Linked DNA regions of Homo sapiens: regions 2 and 3 are each linked to region 1. The links are contacts of gene promoters, found by promoter capture Hi-C in blood cells and fetal thymus (Javierre and others, 2016). All regions are on one chromosome and are shown on one strand. The core of a region is centred on a gene start or on the middle of the fragment in contact, and the rest is flanking DNA. Distances in the headings are between cores, read along the strand shown.

Region 1 (3,679 bases), core at 302-2,801:
CGCGTCGGCGCCGGCCCCCTGCAATGGTTGGCGGTATGGGGAGGTGAACCAAGAAGGCCAGGAGTTCAAGTGCGTGATCCCCCACTGGGGCATATAGGTTACAGCCGCCAGGGCAACTGAAACTCCTCAGGCTCCAGAGGGCTGAAGTGAGTCGCCTCCACGTTCTTGAGGTGCTTCCGAGCCAGGAACAGTGCGAGGCGCCGGCGCCGCCGCGAGCTCAGGCCCTGGCCCACCAGCCATGGGAAGGCGGGTCCGTGTGGCCCCAGGGCCTCCTCGCCCTCCAGCTCCTCTTCGCAGCGTGCACGGTAGGAGCGCAGCAGCGCCAGGCACCAGTCCTCGTCCACGCGGTAGCGTGCATAGAAGGCGGCCTCCTGCGCCAAGCTGCCAGCGCGCAGCCAGCGGGTGACGACGGCGCGGCCCTCTCGCGCCATCACGACGGGGTAGCGGTGCTCCAGCAGGCGCAGCAGCAGCTCATTGCCCCGGTTGCCCTCCACGTCACCAGGTGACAGGGGGCGCAGGCGGCCCGAAGTGCTGACCACGTCATCCTGCGTGCGTCGGAGCAGCAGCACCGGCCCCGGGTAGCAGCACAGCTGCTCGGCCACGTTGAGGTTGAAGTGCTCGCGCACGGTGCGCACCACCAGCCCCTTCCAACTGTGGGGCATGACCTTCAGCGCCAGCGGCACAAGGTCGTCGAAGGTGGCGTCCAGCACCAGTGCACCCAGCTCCGGGTAGGTCATGGTGGCCCAGGTGGCCGTGAAGCCGCCAACAGACCAGCCGTAGACCACCAGGTGCGCGGGCGGGAAGTGCAGGCGGTGCAGTGCGTACTCGACCACCACGTCCATGGCGTTGGCGTCGTGCTGAGGGAAGGGCACGCCAGTGCTGCTGCCGAAGCCGGGGTGGTTCCAGCCCAGCACGGAGTAGCCGGCCTCGAGCGGTGCAGACAGACAGCCCATCTCGTAGAAGCCCGCGTTGCCTTCGCAGCAGATGACGAGGCGCGGCCCGTGCACGTGGCTGCCCGGGTGCTGGCGGCGGTCCATGAACATAGTGTCGATCTCGTTGCCGTCACAGGCCACCAGCTTGGCGCGCCGGCCGTGGTAGCGCTCCACGAGGCGCTCTTGGCCCTGCTGCAGCAGCGGCAGCAGCGCGCGCGTCATCAGGGACACGGAGCCGGGGTACACGAGCCAGCGGCCCAGCGAGTGGGCCAGCGCGTAGCTAGCGAGCTGGCCGGGCAGCTCGCGGAGCTGCTGCAAGAGGCACTGCGCCTGGCTGCGCGCCCCACGTGGAGGCCGCCCCAGCGCATCCCCGCCCAGCGTCTCGTCCCGCAGCAACCACACGCCCGCCGCGGCTGCCGCGCAGGTCAGCGCCCGGTGGCTGCTGCTCCGGCCCACGGCGCGCACGTCATCCCAGCGGAAGGCCACGGGCCAGCCGCGGAATGGGTAGGTGTAGCTGGCGGTCAGGTAGATCTTGAACACGCGCACCAGCGCCTTCACGAAGCAGATGACGCACATGAGCGGTGGCCCTAACGCCCAGCCGCTGGGCCGGGATCGCCGCGAGAGGCACAGGGCAGTCTTAGGGGATACCGGCTCCCGGACAAGCCCTGATGGCCTTTGTGACCTGGCCTTCCAGGGCGGAGGGAAGGCTGCATCCTGTTGCTAGGTGATGGGTGCACAAAGGGTTCCCAGAGATGATGAACCCAAGGTTCTGCCCGTCCCCCGCCTTCGCCAAGACCCCACCAGCTAAACGCTCCCAGGCCCAGCTTTCCCACCCATGATTTGAGCAGCTACTGTCTCCCTCTTTCTTCCTTATTTATTTATTAAATTGAGATGGGGTCTCACTATGCTGCCTAGGCTGGTCTTGAACCCCTGGGCTCAAGCGATCCTCCCGCCTCCACCTCCCACAGTGTTGGGATTACAGGTGTGAGTCCCTGCACCCCGCCTCCACCTCCCACAGTGTTGGGATTACAGGTGTGAGTCCCTGCACCCCGCCTCCCTCTTCCTTAAATTTAAGATGGACAGCCCCACGGGCCAAAAAGGGACAGCAAGGCCTCCTCCGCCTGTACCAGGCTTGCTGTGGGTCCTGCAAGTTTCCCTTCAGGGTCTGCTGGTTTAAACCTCATCTCCCCAGGACGGCCGGGGTCAGAGACAGGGCTGCTGCTGCACCAAAAAGGCGGTATTTGCTCTCGGCCCGGCCCCTCCTCTCCACACCTTCCTTCTTCGGTGCTGACCAGAAACAAGCCCTCTCCTTTTCTGGATCCTCTTTTCACTGGCTGCCAGCAACAGCAGTGACCTTCTGGGGCGGGTCCTGCCTGGCTGGGGTTCCTCTTTCTCGCTCCTGGGTCGAGCCCCCACTCCCAGGCTGCGCCTCCCTCTTTTCTGGAGAGGTATCTTTTCTCCTGCCCTGGAAAGGGCCAGCCCACCTGAGGGCAGGGTCGGAAGCCGCCTGCCAGGAGGAGCCCCAGGGAAGAGGGCAGCTCCAGGTACTCAACAGCTCCCCAGACCAGAAACAAACATGCTACAATCAGGGAGTTTGGCAAATCCAGCCAGAGCCTCTGAGCCCAGGTGCCAGGCCCGCCTGGGACCCCAGCCTTCTGGGGAAGGGGTAGTTTCAGGCTGAAGCACCCCCTCTCTGCTCTCCTGCTCAGCGTCTGGGTTAGAGGCACTGCCTGACCCTAACAGGCCCCGCCCCTAGTTGGGGGAGTCAGCTGCTGCCTTTAGGGGTTGGGGGACAGAAGACAGGGACCAATTAACAAAGGGAGCGATTTGGGGGGCTATTACCCCCATTCTAGGTTGCCAGATAAAATACAGAATAATATGCCAGTTAAATTGGAATTACAAATAAACAAATACTTTTTGGGTATAAGTATGTTCCAACTTCTGCTTGAGACATTATTTTAAAATTGTTTATCTGAAATTCAAATTTAACTGGATATCCTGTTTTTTCTGTTTGTTTGTTTGTTTGTTTTTGAGACGGAGTCTCACTCTTGTCGCCCAGGCTGGAGTGCAATGGTGCAATCTCAGCTCACTGCAACCTCTGCCTCCTGGGTGTTCAAGCAATTCTCCTGCCTCAGCCTCCCAAGTAGCTGGGATTACAGGTGCCCGCCACCATGCCCGGCTAACTTTTTGTACTTTTAGTAGAGATGGGGTTTCACCACGTTGGTCAGGCTGGCCTCTAACTCCTGACCTCAGGTGGATCACCCGCTTTGGCCTCCCAAAGTGCTGGGATTACAGGCAGGAGCCACCGCACCCGGTCTAGATATACCCTGTTTTTAAATTTGTTTTTGTTTTGCTAAATCTGGCAGTCCTACCCCCAGGCACACACACAGTTGAGATCCAGATTTTCCTGGTTATCCAGCTTTGATCTCCGATTGGCTACTGTGCTCATTGGTCAAAGCCTGAGGACAAAGAGGGTGTCTCAGGGTCCACTGGTGCACCTGTCACACCATCCTTTCCACTGGGTCCTGGGCAGCAACAGGAGCCCTGCCCCAGGAGGAAACACACAGGGTACTGCCCCTGCAGCCAAGGGATGGGCAAGGCTTCCCCTGGGGATTGGTGGTTCTGGTCCTGCTCAAGTGTCCACCCCTGACCCTGTGGGGAAAGGAGCCTGGTGGATAGGGGTGGGGATGGAAACTTCTGCAGAGGGTGGGAGATGATTCCTTTCCCAGGAGCCTCTTTCATAAACT
Region 2 (3,679 bases), core at 824-3,323, 390 kb after region 1:
GTCCTGGACACCAGAGCACCTTAATCCTTGCTCCCATCTCAGCTCTGGTGCATCTGCTCAAACGGGAACTGGGGTCACTTTTCCTTCATCCTCTGTGGATCAGCCCTGACCTTGGGTCCCACTGGGCTCTGACATCAAACCTGAGATGACTGCTTGCCCAGGAGAGGTCACGTGTAGCCCGGGCACTGCCGAGGGGCACCGGATAGTCTGGGGCTTCCCCCCACAGGATGAGGGGCCCCAGCCCTGCAGGGTTTACATTTTGAGCTACGGCTGCTCCCTCGGGTCTTCTGGTGAGTGGGAAAGACCAGCGGCACCAGCCAGCGTGTGCAGGGAGATGCCACGGTGCTCTCTTCCTTCTGCATACTGAAGTCCTCTCCCTCCCCTGAAAGCACCAGGCTGGTGCCTCCTCCCTTAACAATCGAGAGAAACCGCAGCCGCTTGGGGCAAGCCCACTTCATGCTGGTAATCACAGCCAATGCGTGGGCACAGAGGCAGGGAGGCGGGGATCCAGAAAGTACCCCTGGATGTGCACAAGCTTGTGTAAGTTGCCGTCTATCCCCAACGTCCTGGATAACGTACAGGTTAGCATTCTGCCTGCACCGACCCTTCTGTATTCAGCCTAGTTAAAAACAAAACAACAACAACAAAAACAGGCCCCGTGGCCACTAGCTCTGGAAACCAAAGGGCAAACACAACTCAAGAGCTCACTCTGCACCAGGGTTAGGGCTGTTTTATGAGCAGGTCACCTGCGAGGACGGCGCCAGCGATTCAGCAGAGGGCCTTTCTCTGGGTAGAACCCATGGTGCCAGGCGAACGTGCAAACAGGCTGGATGTAGTCAGAGACGCACTCGAAGATGACACCCCTCCTGGATGTGCAGAGGAAGGCCCAGTGGCGGGGCACCTCACAGGGCGGGCAGCACTGAGCCGCAGGGGTCCCTTGGTCTCCCAGCAGCAGCTCCAGAGGGACCCCTCCCAGGACACATGGCTGCCGGCAGGGGGGAGGCCACCTCCGCGCACTTGCCCCCAAGGAAACACCGTCCCATCTGTGTCCAGGAGGCACAGATCTGCCTCCTTTGTCCCGAGGTGTGGCACTGGGCTTCCTGCTGGCCTGTCTGCTGCCCTGGGGCCACCCTCCAGTCCCTGCCCCTGCCACAGGCCCCTTCTGGGGTCTGCATAACTAAGTCCAGGCCCCTTGGGGGGCTTCAAGGCCCTCTAGGAGTGACTCTCTCCCATCCCCCACCCCATGGCCCTTGCTCCTCTTCTTGCCTCCCGGCCTCTGTGGCCACCCCCTTTCCCCTGGGCTGCTTTCCTTGCAGGGTGCCTCCAGCCTCCACAGACCCTCCCTGCACACACCCTGGGGTCTAGGGGGTCCTACTGCCTGGGCAACCCTGACACCGAGAGCATGAGGTCACCATGGGCTGAGCCCTAACAGAGTCTTGGGGAGAGCCCCTACCCCCATCCCTTCCCGGAGGCGTCCACTCCCAGGGCCCAGCTGAGAAGACTCCAGTCCTGCTCAGGCGGCTGGGCACCGCTCTGGGACCCCAGGAGCGCTGGGGCCACCAGGCAGGTCCACTTGGTTAGTACTACCGGACTCAAAGGTGACCGCAGGGTCAGTGTGCACATGGCCGGGGGATTGGGCAGGCTCAGCCCAGAGCTCTGGTCCCGCGGGCCTTGGTCCCTTCTGCCTCCCCCTCCTCTCCCCCTGCCCTCCCCTCCCCCTCCCCCACTCCCCCTCCTCTCCCCCCTCCCCTCCCCCTCCACTCCTGTCTCCCCCCTCCACTCCTGTCTCCCCTCTCCCCGTCCCCGCCACTCTCCTCCCCTCCCATTCCCCTCTCCTCCCCTCCCCCTCCCCTCCTGTCTCCCCTCTCCCCGTCCCCTCTCCCTCCCCTCCCCTCCCTTTCCCTCTTCTCTCCTCCCCTCTCCTCTCCTTCCCCCCTCCCCTCCCCTCCCCGTCCCTCCCTCTCCCCTCCCTTCCCCTCCCTCTCTTCTCCTCCCCTCTCCTTCGACTGGCGTCGCGGGGGTTAACGCGGGGCGGGGCGAGGCGGCGGGCGGAGCCGGCGCGGCCGCGGGCCAGGCGCCGAGGTGCGCGCGGAGCGAGGTGGCCGCAGCGTCTCCGCGCGCGGCCCAAGCCCGGCAGGAGTGCGGAACCGCCGCCTCGGCCATGCGGCTCCCGGCCGGGGGGCCTGGGCTGGGGCCCGCGCCGCCCCCCGCGCTCCGCCCCCGCTGAGCCTGAGCCCGACCCGGGGCGCCTCCCGCCAGGCACCATGGTGCAGAAGTCGCGCAACGGCGGCGTATACCCCGGCCCGAGCGGGGAGAAGAAGCTGAAGGTGGGCTTCGTGGGGCTGGACCCCGGCGCGCCCGACTCCACCCGGGACGGGGCGCTGCTGATCGCCGGCTCCGAGGCCCCCAAGCGCGGCAGCATCCTCAGCAAACCTCGCGCGGGCGGCGCGGGCGCCGGGAAGCCCCCCAAGCGCAACGCCTTCTACCGCAAGCTGCAGAATTTCCTCTACAACGTGCTGGAGCGGCCGCGCGGCTGGGCGTTCATCTACCACGCCTACGTGTGAGTGGCCGGCGGGGCCCCCGTGGCGACCCCCATGGCGACCCCCATCGGCGACCCCATCGGCGACCCCGGCCAGGCTGGCTGCGGCGGGTTTGGCTCCCTGCCCCTGGGTCTGGGTCCGGGGCCGGCGCTCCCCGGCGGGAGTGCTGGGCCGAGACCGGAGAGCGATTGTACAGCGCGCGGGCAGGAAGGATTCCGGGGTCGGGGCCGCTCAGGTCGGGGTGGGGGCTCCAGGCCCGCAGGACAGAGACGTGCGGCCGCCCCAGCCCCCTCCTCAGCCTGGGAGGCCCCTCCCCGCGGCCTCTGCGCCGAACAAAGGGCCGGCCGGGGAGGGACGGCGGCAGCGCTGGGTCTGGACTCTCCGGGACTCTCGGGGACCCGCGGGGCTGGGGCCGCCCGACCAAGCGAGGGCGGGGGGGAGGGGTCTGGCCTGTCCTCCGCCATCCTCCCGAGCCGCTCTCCCTCAGACTAGGGTGAGCTTCTGGGTTCCTGAGATGGGGGAGGGGCCCTCCCATGACCCCCCCACCCCAGCCCGGGCTGAGCGCAGCTGTCTGTCCTGCCCCCTCGGCGCCGACGCCCCTCCCTGGCCCCGCGAACCCCCTCAGCTCCTGCGCTCAGCTCCTGCGCTGTCCCATCTCTGCAGCCGCCGGCCGCCCCCGTGCACATCCCGGGCTCAGGACCCCTCCTTGGCAGAGCGAGGCCCGGGGGAGGGGCTGCGGCAGACCTGGGACCCCCAGCCCTGGGCCTGGAAGGGGCTGTCCCCTCTTCCCGGGCGAGGCTCAGGGAACGGCTGCCTCCTGGGGCAGGGCTGGCGGGGGGCGGCCGAAGCCTGCGTCCGTGTGCACCTGGGTGTTCGCATGTGGAATTGCACGGCCCGCTGCGTGTGCGGCCTGTGCGGCCGGTGTGCACAGCCTCCCCGCGCCAGGGCGCTTGCTCTCCCATCCCAGCTGAACAAGGGACCCGCTGAGCTCCGGGACCGGCCATTTTGTGTGAGAGGCATTTTGGGATGGGAGTGAGGGGCAGACTGGTCACAAGCTGGTCGGGCGCCCACCTGGGCCGAGAGGGGTGTGTGCCCCACGAGTGTGCCCCAGCCTGCGTGTGGCCTTGAGTGTGCCCTTA
Region 3 (3,679 bases), core at 522-3,021, 360 kb after region 1:
AGCCCCTGGCACTGCTATGGGTGAGCCGGGAGCCGAGGGGGAAGGGGTGTCTGGAAAAGGTAGCCCAGAGTCCTGGTGATCCCTTGGGGGAGTGGGGTGGGCATCCCCGGGACCCCGGCCTGGGCCACTCGAGCACCTGCAGCAAGCCCACTTCCAAATCCCTGCCTAACCTTCAGGCTGCAGGGGAGGCGTTAAATATAGAGACCAGCTGGGTGGGGTGGGGCGGGCCTTGCTTTCTTGCCAGGCGGTTATTTTTATTCCTGGCTCCTGTTTGACGGCATCGGCAGCACTCGGAAGTGCCGGGGCACCTAGCAGGCCCTCCCTGCCTCCTCTCCTGCCTGTGGCCCAGGAGCCCAAGTCCCTGGACTCCTATGGGGCAGACGCAGCCACAGACCAGGGTCCTCCTGAGAGGCCCTCTCCACAGGCTGGGGAGAACTGTTTGGCCCCGACCCTGGGCCCCCACCTTTCCTTCCTCCTCACACCTGCCAGCAGGCCAGGTAGGGGTCCAGTCGCTGGGGATCCCCATGGATTTGCCCAGTCGCAGCTGCTGGGCCCGACCCGGGGCCTCCATGTCAACACCCAGTGGGAACTCAGGGCTGAGAGGACAGGTGCCAGGGCTCTGCCCCCACTCAGCACACACCTCCCGAGACCCCGCTGGCAGGAAGATCCGAGTGCGTGGGGGTGGGGGGGCAGCGTGGGAGGGAAGACCTGAATACCTGGGTGAGACGACAGGATCTTGGGGTCTGGAGAAAGCCCCTAACCTTGGTCTTCACACAACACATGGCTGCCACATCCCCTTCCTCACAACCCACGTTGGTCATTACCCGCGTGTGCCAGGACCTCAGGGACTCCCCACTTCCTACAGAGCGTGGCCCGGTCTTTGGCTTGGCATCCTGACCCCATATGAGCATCAGCTACAAGGCGCTGAGGTGCAGCGGGGTGGGGCGCTGGGCGGGGGGGCCTGGGTCTGTCTGGATCTGACTCGCCCTTGGCTGGCGCTGTTTCCCAGCAGCAGCCGGAGGTCGGCGCACCCGGAGGGGAGGGTCCCTGGAAGATGTCAGTGGGTCTGGGAGCGGGCTTCCGGCGTTCCCTGCACCGTGGGAGACCAGCCTCTCAGGGGGAGGGTGGTTCTGCGCTGGATCCTCGGGGCCTGTCATGGTGCGCCCAGGAGGGCAGGCACGTGAGGACAGGGACTGGAAACCAGCAGATTTCCACCCTGAGGCCTGCACCCCCGGGCCTCATTAGGGAGAGCCCCTCAGAGCCGGGCTTCGTTGGTTCTGGGGCGTCCCCCATGAGCAGGGCCGGGGAGGGGCCGGTAGACCCAGGCTCGTCTCCCAGGCTGCAGCCCACCTGCTCCCCTCCCCCGCCTGCCGGCTCCGGTCCTCGGCGTCTGCCCTGTCCCCGGGGACCGCTTTTCGCGGCTCAAGCGTGTTCCTGCCCTGAGCCGGCTCTCGCCCCGTCTCCCGGGCCCGCCGCGCTCTCCCCGCGCCGTCTCCGTCCCGGTCCCTCCCTCCCGCCGCCTCCCTGCCCTGCCCCCCGCCCCGCCCCCGCCCGCGGCGCGTTTCTCCCCCGCCTCCCGCGTCCGTCTTTGCAGCCCGCGCCTCCCGCATCGCCTCGCGTCCCCGTGGCGCCCGCCCGCGCGCGTCCGCGCCCCGCCCCCTCCCGCGCGGTTCCGCATTGGCGTGCTGCAGGGCGCGGTGCACTGCGCCGCCACCGTCAATAGGTGGACCCCCTCCCGGAGATAAAACCGCCGGCGCCGGCGCCGCCAGTCCCTCTGGCTGAGACCTCGGCTCCGGGTAAGGACGCTCGGCCCCCGGGCCTCCGCCCCCGCCCCCGTCTTCCGAAGAGGGACCCCCGGGGCCGGTCCTGGGGGGCAGAGGGTGGCCGGGCCCCGCACCCGCCCCCGCGCGCGCCCGGAGTCCGGCTTCCGGGGGTCCCCGCGTCGGCCGGGCTGGGCCCGGGGTGGGGGGCGGCGCGGGGCGGCGGGGCCGGGTCCTGGGCGGCGATCGCCCCGTAGCCGTGACCTTGGGGCCGCGGGGACCCTGCGGGCCGGGGGCTGATGGGGGTCGGGCTTCGGGGCGCTGGGCCAGAGGACGCTGAGGGAGGTGGTGAGATCTGGGGGCCCTGGCCTCCCCACCCCCACCCGTGTTCCCACCCCAGGGTGGCTTCTGTCCTCTTTCCCTCCCCCAGCCACCTGTCCGCGAGGAGCAGCGTGGGTTTCTCCACTGACCTCTGTGATGGGACAGGGCTGTGACCCAGGGTCCTGAGTCACAGGGAGGGGGGGAGGGAGGGTGCCCCCTATACCCCCACGGGGCCGAGGGCATCTCCACCTGGCACTTGCTGGGCTCGGCAGGGCCGGGTCCTCCTTCCTCAGGCTGGAACAGGGACCCCCACCTCCCGGCCGCTGTCTGTCCCTGTGAGAGTCCGGGAGGGGGGTGCCTAGAGCTATTCTGGGTTCCTAATCTGGGCAGCGCATCTCCGTCGGGGCTCTGGCCCAGCCTGCCGGGCAGGGATGAGGGGAAGATGGCGCCGTCCCTGCCTGAGGAGGGGAGTGGGGAGCAGTGGCCATCTCTCCCCGGTGGCAGCGGGTGGGGGTGGGGCGCCGTGTCCCTGGCCCTGCCGCCGGGGAGGGGAGTGCGCGTGCAGGACAGGGCCCTGGAGCGCTGGGCAGGTGACTCATCACCCGGCTCTGCTGGTCACGGACGTACCCAGCCTGGCGCTGCGTGGTCTCTCCAAATGGTGGCTAACCCCTTCCCAAGGAGCAGCCCGCGGGCTCCAACGCCCAGTTATTTACAGCAGATGGGGCTGTTTGGGCTCAAGTGTGGGGTGGGGGCAGTGCACAGCCTCTGCTTGCCCTGGCCAGGCCCAGCTGTGGGTGGGGGCCCTTCCCTCCCCACCAAACATGGGGGCTTGGTTTGTGGGCAGGGATGCCTGTCCAGCCTGTGCCAGGACAGTCTCTGCTGGTGTCTCCCCCTGGGGCTCCCCATCACCGGTCTCCCCACCACCACTGGCCCCACAGAATCACTGCAGCCCCCCTCGCCCTGAGCCAGAGCACCCCGGGTCCCGCCAGCCCCTCACACTCCCAGCAAAATGGGCAAGGAGAAGACCCACATCAACATCGTGGTCATCGGCCACGTGGACTCCGGAAAGTCCACCACCACGGGCCACCTCATCTACAAATGCGGAGGTATTGACAAAAGGACCATTGAGAAGTTCGAGAAGGAGGCGGCTGAGGTGAGCTCCCCAGGCTATGGTCTTGGCCCCCTGAGAAGGAACCCCCAACTCCCGTGGTGGCCAGGCTTGGCATCTCCCAGCCCCAGGGCATGGGGCTCAGGTGACCTCCTCCAGGGCAGGAGGGACCCCCGCTGTGGGGCACTCAGGCCTCAGAGGGTCTGGTGGGGCAGCCTCTCTCTTAGGGGGAGCTTGGTGGGGGAGGGGTGGCCATCGAGCTGCCGGACTTGCCCTGTGGTGAGGGAGGTGACCTGGGAGGGTCTGCAGAAGGCTCTGGAACTCTGCCATGTTGAGCTGGGGCTGGAGGGCGCTGGAGCCTTACCCCCTTCCCCCCAGGGCCAAGGCTGGGGCTGGAGATGGTACTGCCCTCACTTGTCCTAGGGCCCTGCCAGGGCACACGCTACTATTAATAGCTGATTGATGGGCAGCCGGCCCGTCTGCTCCATTT

The links. The method cuts DNA at HindIII sites, captures the fragments that hold promoters and counts their contacts. A CHiCAGO score of 5 or more calls a contact.
Region 2: a contact is called between the fragment with the promoter of KCNQ2 here and the fragment with the promoter of ABHD16B in region 1, in 1 of 17 cell types (activated CD4 T cells). The highest score is 5.7, in activated CD4 T cells.
Region 3: a contact is called between the fragment with the promoter of EEF1A2 here and the fragment with the promoter of ABHD16B in region 1, in 3 of 17 cell types (total B cells, naive B cells and erythroblasts). The highest score is 7.3, in total B cells.

The regions. Positions count from the first base shown.
Region 1 is chr20:63,859,370-63,863,048 of GRCh38, reverse strand. ABHD16B (abhydrolase domain containing 16B) reads right to left here and starts at 1,551. Exons shown (of 1, transcript NM_080622.4): 1 at 61-1,551. The coding sequence starts at 1,508. The coding sequence ends at 99. ABHD16B-AS1 (ABHD16B antisense RNA 1) reads left to right here. Exons shown (of 2, transcript NR_165314.1): 2 at 1-1,834. The HindIII fragment of the contact is 10,144 bases long and covers 1-3,679 here.
Region 2 is chr20:63,471,049-63,474,727 of GRCh38, reverse strand. It overlaps KCNQ2 (potassium voltage-gated channel subfamily Q member 2), which reads left to right and starts at 2,073. Exons shown (of 17, transcript NM_172107.4): 1 at 2,073-2,560. The coding sequence starts at 2,265. The HindIII fragment of the contact is 3,283 bases long and covers 538-3,679 here.
Region 3 is chr20:63,497,175-63,500,853 of GRCh38, reverse strand. EEF1A2 (eukaryotic translation elongation factor 1 alpha 2) reads left to right here and starts at 1,771. Exons shown (of 8, transcript NM_001958.5): 1 at 1,771-1,796; 2 at 3,020-3,234. The coding sequence starts at 3,091. LOC124904955 (a long non-coding RNA gene) reads right to left here and starts at 2,572. Exons shown (of 2, transcript XR_007067719.1): 1 at 2,231-2,572. RefSeq lists enhancers at 1,137-1,706, 1,967-2,762, 3,388-3,557. The HindIII fragment of the contact is 27,651 bases long and covers 1-3,679 here.